Regions from separate parts of the Homo sapiens genome. Here region 2 is linked to region 1. Evidence: promoter capture Hi-C in 16 types of primary human blood cells and fetal thymus (Javierre and others, 2016). All regions are on one chromosome and are shown on one strand. Each heading gives the region's core, a stretch centred on a gene start or on the middle of the fragment in contact. The rest is flanking DNA. Distances are from core to core; before and after follow the strand shown. Region 1 holds the start of OR10T2 (olfactory receptor family 10 subfamily T member 2). Region 2 has its middle 7.7 kb from the start of CD1A.

The links. Contacts are between HindIII fragments. The CHiCAGO score rates a contact against its expected background, and 5 or more counts as called.
Region 2: a contact is called between a fragment that was not itself captured here and the fragment with the promoter of OR10T2 in region 1, in 1 of 17 cell types (fetal thymus). The highest score is 10.5, in fetal thymus.

The regions. Positions count from the first base shown.
Region 1 is chr1:158,398,021-158,401,106 of GRCh38, forward strand. OR10T2 (olfactory receptor family 10 subfamily T member 2) reads right to left here and starts at 1,446. Exons shown (of 1, transcript NM_001004475.1): 1 at 502-1,446. The coding sequence starts at 1,446. The coding sequence ends at 502. The HindIII fragment of the contact is 4,820 bases long and covers 1-3,086 here.
Region 2 is chr1:158,260,593-158,263,678 of GRCh38, forward strand. No RefSeq gene overlaps it. Among named protein-coding and RNA genes, the nearest start is that of CD1A, 7.7 kb to the left of the region's middle. The HindIII fragment of the contact is 157 bases long and covers 1,557-1,713 here.

The DNA of each region.
Region 1 (3,086 bases), core at 196-2,695:
CTGATCTGATTATCTTGCATTATCATATTTTTTTCAGTGTTCATCTTTTCACCTAACCAGTCCCAACCACCATAAACTATACATTTGTTCATTTTAATTTTTCCTCTTTGAATGGGACTTGGTACACAGATGAATGTATTACTAGATGAATGCCTGTGTCCCGGATAAAAATGCTTCCAGCCACTTCAGACTCTGTTCTGTCTCTCCAACTGGAAAAGCAATTCTTGTCCTTATATTTGTTTTGGTTGTGTCTTTCCTTGAAAAACTCTCATGCTTTTCTCTTTTTGCCAAGTGTGAATTCTTTTTTTTTAACTAGACATCGGACAATATAGAGTGTAGATTGACTTGCATTTTTTTTCTTTTTGGAATAGGAGAAAATAAAAAGGCAAGAGTAGTCTTAATCCTTGGAAACACTGTCTGAGACATGCATTAAAGGTCAGAAAATTTTATGCCTTTGATTTCTTCTGTGACTATCCTAGTTAATTTTATTATTATTTTTTGTTAGCTCATCTTGGTTGCCACAGGCATTCCAAGAACTCTTTTCAATGCAGTTTTTACCTCTTTGTTCCTCAGACTGTAGACAAGAGGATTAAGTAAGGGAGTAACCACTGTGTAGGTCACTGCCACCAACTGATCCTTGTCTGAGGCAGACTTGGACTTGGGCCGCAGATAGATGATAGAGGCACAGCCATAGTGGACAAAGACCACAGTGAGATGTGAGGCACAGGTGACAAAGGCCTTCTTGCCCTCAGCTGAGGGGATCTTCAGGATGGTGTTAACTATGAAGCCATAGGATATGAGAATTAACAGAAAAGGCACCATAATTACCAGGATGCTGAGGCTAAATAAAGCCAGCTCTTTCACATGGGTGTCAGTGCAGGCTAACTTGATAACAGGTGCCATGTCACAGAAATAGTGGTTAACCCTGTTGGGGCCACAAAAACGCATGTCACAAATGAGGTTGGTGGCCACCAAAGCAATAAAGAAACCTGTGGCTCCTGAGAGAGAAATCAACTCCAACCCCAGCCTTTTGTTTATGATGAGTGTGTACCTCAGAGGGTGACAAATTGCTACATAGCGATCATATCCCATCACAGCAATGAGGAGGCAGTTGGTGCAAGCAAAGCCAAGGAAAAAGAACAGCTGGGTGGCACAGGCCATGAAGGAGATGGTCTTGGTGTCTGAGAGCAGGTGGACCAGCAGCTGAGGGATGATGACAAAAGTGTAGCAGGACTCAGAAAATGAAAGGATGAATAGAAAGCCATACATGGGAGTGTGGAGAGTCCAGCTGAAGCGAATAACGGCCATGATGGTCACATTGGCCACCAGGATTGTCAAGTATAGGAGAAGAAAGATGACAAAAAGCAGCAGCTGGAGCTCCCCCAGGCTGGAGAAACCCACCAGGATGAACTGTGTAACCACAGTGGTTTTGTTGAAACCTCGCATCTGAAGAACTTCTTTCTGTGAATGTGTTTGAAAGAGACAAAATGATAACTATCTTTGTAATACGAACATTTTCCCAACGCCTTCACTTTAAGTATATTGTCAGATTCATAATGTTAACATCTCTTTCTCTTAGTCTATCTAGATATAGATGCCTCTTTAATGATTTTTCCAAAAAATTATTAATCTGAAGTAACAGAGAAATGATTATCTACAGTATATAAATACCCCAAAGTTAAAAGGATCCAACTATTTGACAAAGTGAAAAAATTCTCTCAGTTTAAGAAGAACATTACCTTTAATATGGAATAGAAAATTTAAATTATTTTTCTTGTACTGTATGTATTTGGTCCTTGGATGTATATTCTATCCTAGTAATTTGGTTTCTTTTCCTAATATCACAATCCATTTAATTAGCATTATTGTAAAGGCATTAAAACACTGTGCCTCAGAGCATGAACTCAGGAACAAGAATGCTAGAGTTTGAAACTTGCCTTTGCCACTTAGAGCTATGAACTTCAGTGTGACAATTTTTGTCATTTGTAAGACATAAATAATAATAGAACATATTATATAGGATTGTTGTAAGAACTTAGATGGTATCAGTAAAGTACTTGAAACAGCACTTAACACATAGTAACTCCAATCTATGTGTCAGCTGCTTATGCAGTTAAGGAGTTGAGAGGCAAATATCCTGGTTTGATATTTGAACACTAGAAGAGCCTGGATCCTTAAATCAGGACAGAGTTTCCCTGCATTTGACTCAAGTGTTCTTATCCTTGAGATTCTTTTTTTAAAATTGAGCAAAAATTTAAATATGCACAGTTAAAGAAAGAACTGTTACTTTTACATTAAAAATTATTTTCTTTTTAATTTATTTTTTATTAGCAACTAATAATTATACCTATTTATGGGGTATTATGTGATGTTTGGATACATGTATACATTGTGGGATGATTAAATCAGGGTTCTTTAATAAATCTGCCCTTTTTTATCTAAGGAGTCTATAGCCTTTGAATTCTCTTTCATGATTCTATGACATTTGTTCTGTATGTTTCTGGAACTGTGAAGGGACCCAAGTGTAAAACCTGGGTCACAAGGTTATGATGTATCTGTCTATGAAACAAAATAGATTGATGATCACTAGGGATAGGGGTGGAGCAGGAAGACTTAGGTTAAGTCTTCTCTCTATTGAAGAAAGGAGAGGAAATAACGTGAACACACCTTGAATCTCTTGCAAATAAAATAGCCAGAAAGTGCTAAATGGAAAGAGAAGAGCCTATCTCAGGAACTTCCCATTATTTTATAGTCTAGGTTATTCCTCCTCCCAGAGCCCTAATCATTTTTACTTTCAGAATCAGCTTCAGAGATTCAGGAGAAACCAGATGTAATATTTGCACAACTCAACATCTCCCAACTTGTTGGCTACTTTAATGGCTATAAGATGTTAGGAGTTGTTTGACATGACACACTTGAGTTTGTTCATTGTTCATCATCTCTGTTGTGGTTTATTTGCTTAGGTAGTTCCACACACCTGCTACAACAGCTTTTTCCTTTGTTTCAGACCTTGCGGAAAATAAGATGCTTTCATGTAAGCTACTTCATTTTGACTCTAACATCCTGGTAGATAGCAAAAGTGTCTG
Region 2 (3,086 bases), core at 385-2,884, 140 kb before region 1:
CATTTCCTTTACTGTTTCAGCCTATCAAGTTGGGTTTTCTCCTGTTTGTGCTTGAAAGCATCCTATCTGATGTACATGGACCCTAGGGGACACTTAGCTGATTTTACTCTTGGTTGAAGTATTCCTCTTTATTTCCATCTTCCTCCTCCTCCCTTCTTGGGATTGGCTATACTTTAAAATTGATTTCTTTTCTTTCGCAGGTTGAGTATTCTTTATCTGAAATGCTTGGAATCACAGGTGTTTCAGATTTCAGATTTTTGGGGGGGCTTTAGAACATTTCCATACACCCACCAGCCGAGCATCCCTAATCTGGAAATCTGAAACTTGAAATGCTCCAACGAGCATTTTCTTTCAGCATCGTGTCAGTGCTCAAAATGTTTTAAATTCTGGAGCATTTTGCATTTCAGATTTTCACATTAGGAATACCTGACCTGTAGTTTTTTTCTTATATGTGTGCTTATCTTTTTAAACTCTTACACTGTCCTGTTTTTAACTATGCTGCCTGAATTAATTACTCTCTTGAACTTTTCATATATTTCTGACCAGGAATAAAAGTGCTGCATCTGCTGCTAAGTGAGTGACTTTGGAAAGGTTCCCTGATCTTCCTTCTTTTCTTTGGTTAAATGGAGGCAAAAATATATACTCTTAGGATTTTCATAGGAATGCAAAGGCAACCTAGTGTTATTAAAATGCCAGGAGTTTGGTCTACGGCCTGCTGCTTGCCACATAAAAACCAGTTACCGAGGCAATGAGTATTGCCTTTAATTGACTGCTGCAGCCGAGGAGATAGGAAATCAATCTCAAATCCATTTCCTTGATTGACTAAAATTAGGGATTTATAGGGCAGGGAAGAAACAGAACCCTGTGTGGCAAAATAGGAATTAGGGAGAGGTAAGGAAGAAGAATTGGTCAACAGCAAGCAGGTGGTTGCTTAAGCAATCATGATGGGTGAGGAGTCTGGCATCTCGTTGTCCAGATGCGGTAGATTGGTAGGTTTTAGTTGTTTTTGACAAGGTTTAGTTCCCTGGCTGGGAATGTATTGCTAGTAACTTGGCTGCTGTGGGCAGGGAGAGTCTCAAAAGTCCTCCTAAGCAGCTGCCCAACACTTTTTTGGCTACAGGTGGGTGTTGGTTTTTCTTTCTCTGGCCCTACCTCTGCCAGCCCCAGCTGTGTTTCTGATTGCCTAGGAAGAGCAGCCTTTGAAATGTGTCATCTGAGTCTGGATGGGTGAATGTCTTTTGTGGGTACCAGACAGTGGGATCTTCTCCTCTCAATTTGGGGAATTCTGGAGGAATTTCCATTTGCAGGTTGAACAAGCCCAACTGATTGATATTGGAACTCGTTGGTTGCTGCAGCAATTGGACAGTGTTTTAGTGATTGCTTGTTTATTTGTGTGTGTTAATATAGTCACAGGAAATCAGAATTTGATAAACTGATAATATTTTGTAGCACTGTTTGGCTTCAGTGTTCTTTGGAATCTGGAGAAGTTTGGCTTCTCCATGGGTCATGCTGTTGAGTGAGACAGTGGAACGGTGTTATGGTGTTACATGTATCTAAGCTTTTAGGCTGCTGTTCTAAGCAGGGTTGGACCTGGTTAGTACATGATGTTCTTCTATAGTGCTGTTTGGCCCTAGTGGTCTTTGGAGCCTGGGGAAATTTAGCCTTTAATAATCAAACGGCCATGGAAACTGCTTTACCCAAATTTTGGTTCAAAGCTTTCATTGGATTACATATTGGGGCAAACAAACTTGAGCCATGTGAACATGTTCCTAAACCAGTGGTTTGGTATTGCTATCTCATGGCTAGAGTTCCAAGGTAAAAGCTATTGGATCTTTGTGTGTGTATGTGTATACATGTTTATATGTGTTTATGTGTATGTACATTTATTATGTTGTATGTTGTGTCTACCAAATTGGCTTATAAATAAAAGAGCATCTTATACACTAAATAAATAAATCTAAGGAATTTTCAATTTTATGTGACTTAAGTAAATGTTTATTTAAAAAGCTGGCTTTAAAGTCATTAGTAATAAAAAAATAAGAATGTCTTAACAGTGTTAGAATACATTTTCGTCTGGGTTTTATAATTGTCTTTGCTAGATACTTTGAGGTGTCAGTGTTTGGCACAGAGGGTTATAAAAGTATAAACCCAGCCAAAACAAAATGATCTTTGTTTGTGTGCCTTCTTTGGCAAATAAGACTAAGTAAATGTTGTTAGTTTAATAAAAACAGTTGAATCTTCTAAGTTATTGGCAAAAATACCTATGTATTTAAGTTGCTTACTTAGGTGAGCACCTAATATTCATAGGCTACAAATAATGGTCAACAGAGCAATAACCTGAAATGACGACTACCTTTGTCTAATATCTCAGTTTTCAGAACCCACTTATATAAATTTTTTTTTTTCTTTTTTTGAGACGGAGTCTCGCTCTGTCGCCCAGGTTGGAGTCCAGTGGCGCGATCTCGGCTCACTGCAAGCTCTGCCTCCCGGGTTCGCGCCATTCTCCTGCCTCAGCCTCCCGAGTAGCTGGGACTACAGGCGCCCGCCACCAGGCCCGGCTAATTTTTTGTATTTTTAGTAGGGACGGGGTTTCACCGTGTTAGCCAGGATGGTCTTGATCTCCTGACCTCGTGATCCGCCTGCCTCGGTCTCCCAAAGTGCTGGGATTACAGGCGTGAGCCACTGCGCCTGACCTATAAATTGTTTAAAAAGATGAAAGAATTGAATACATGTAAATGGGATACATGCTTGTAGGTGAGCTTTTTGTGTAATTTAAAATCTTAAAATTATTTTTGATGCTTCTTGGATGTCTGGCTCATTTCCAGTTAAGAAAGGGTTATGATATGGAGAAACATGTTTTTATAAATTGTGGAATGTTTTCATCTATAAAATGCAAATATTTGATAGACAGTTAAAGATTTCTTGCTTCCTAGTTTTCACTAAAATTTAAGGTTACTAAGAATAAGAATTGTAGTTAATATATAATTTAGTATATAAAACCTGCCAAAGAAGGTGTTTTCTTATTGAGAAATGGAATAATTTTGTCTAATTCAAATGTTTTCTAAAGTTTGATCCCAATTATGGAC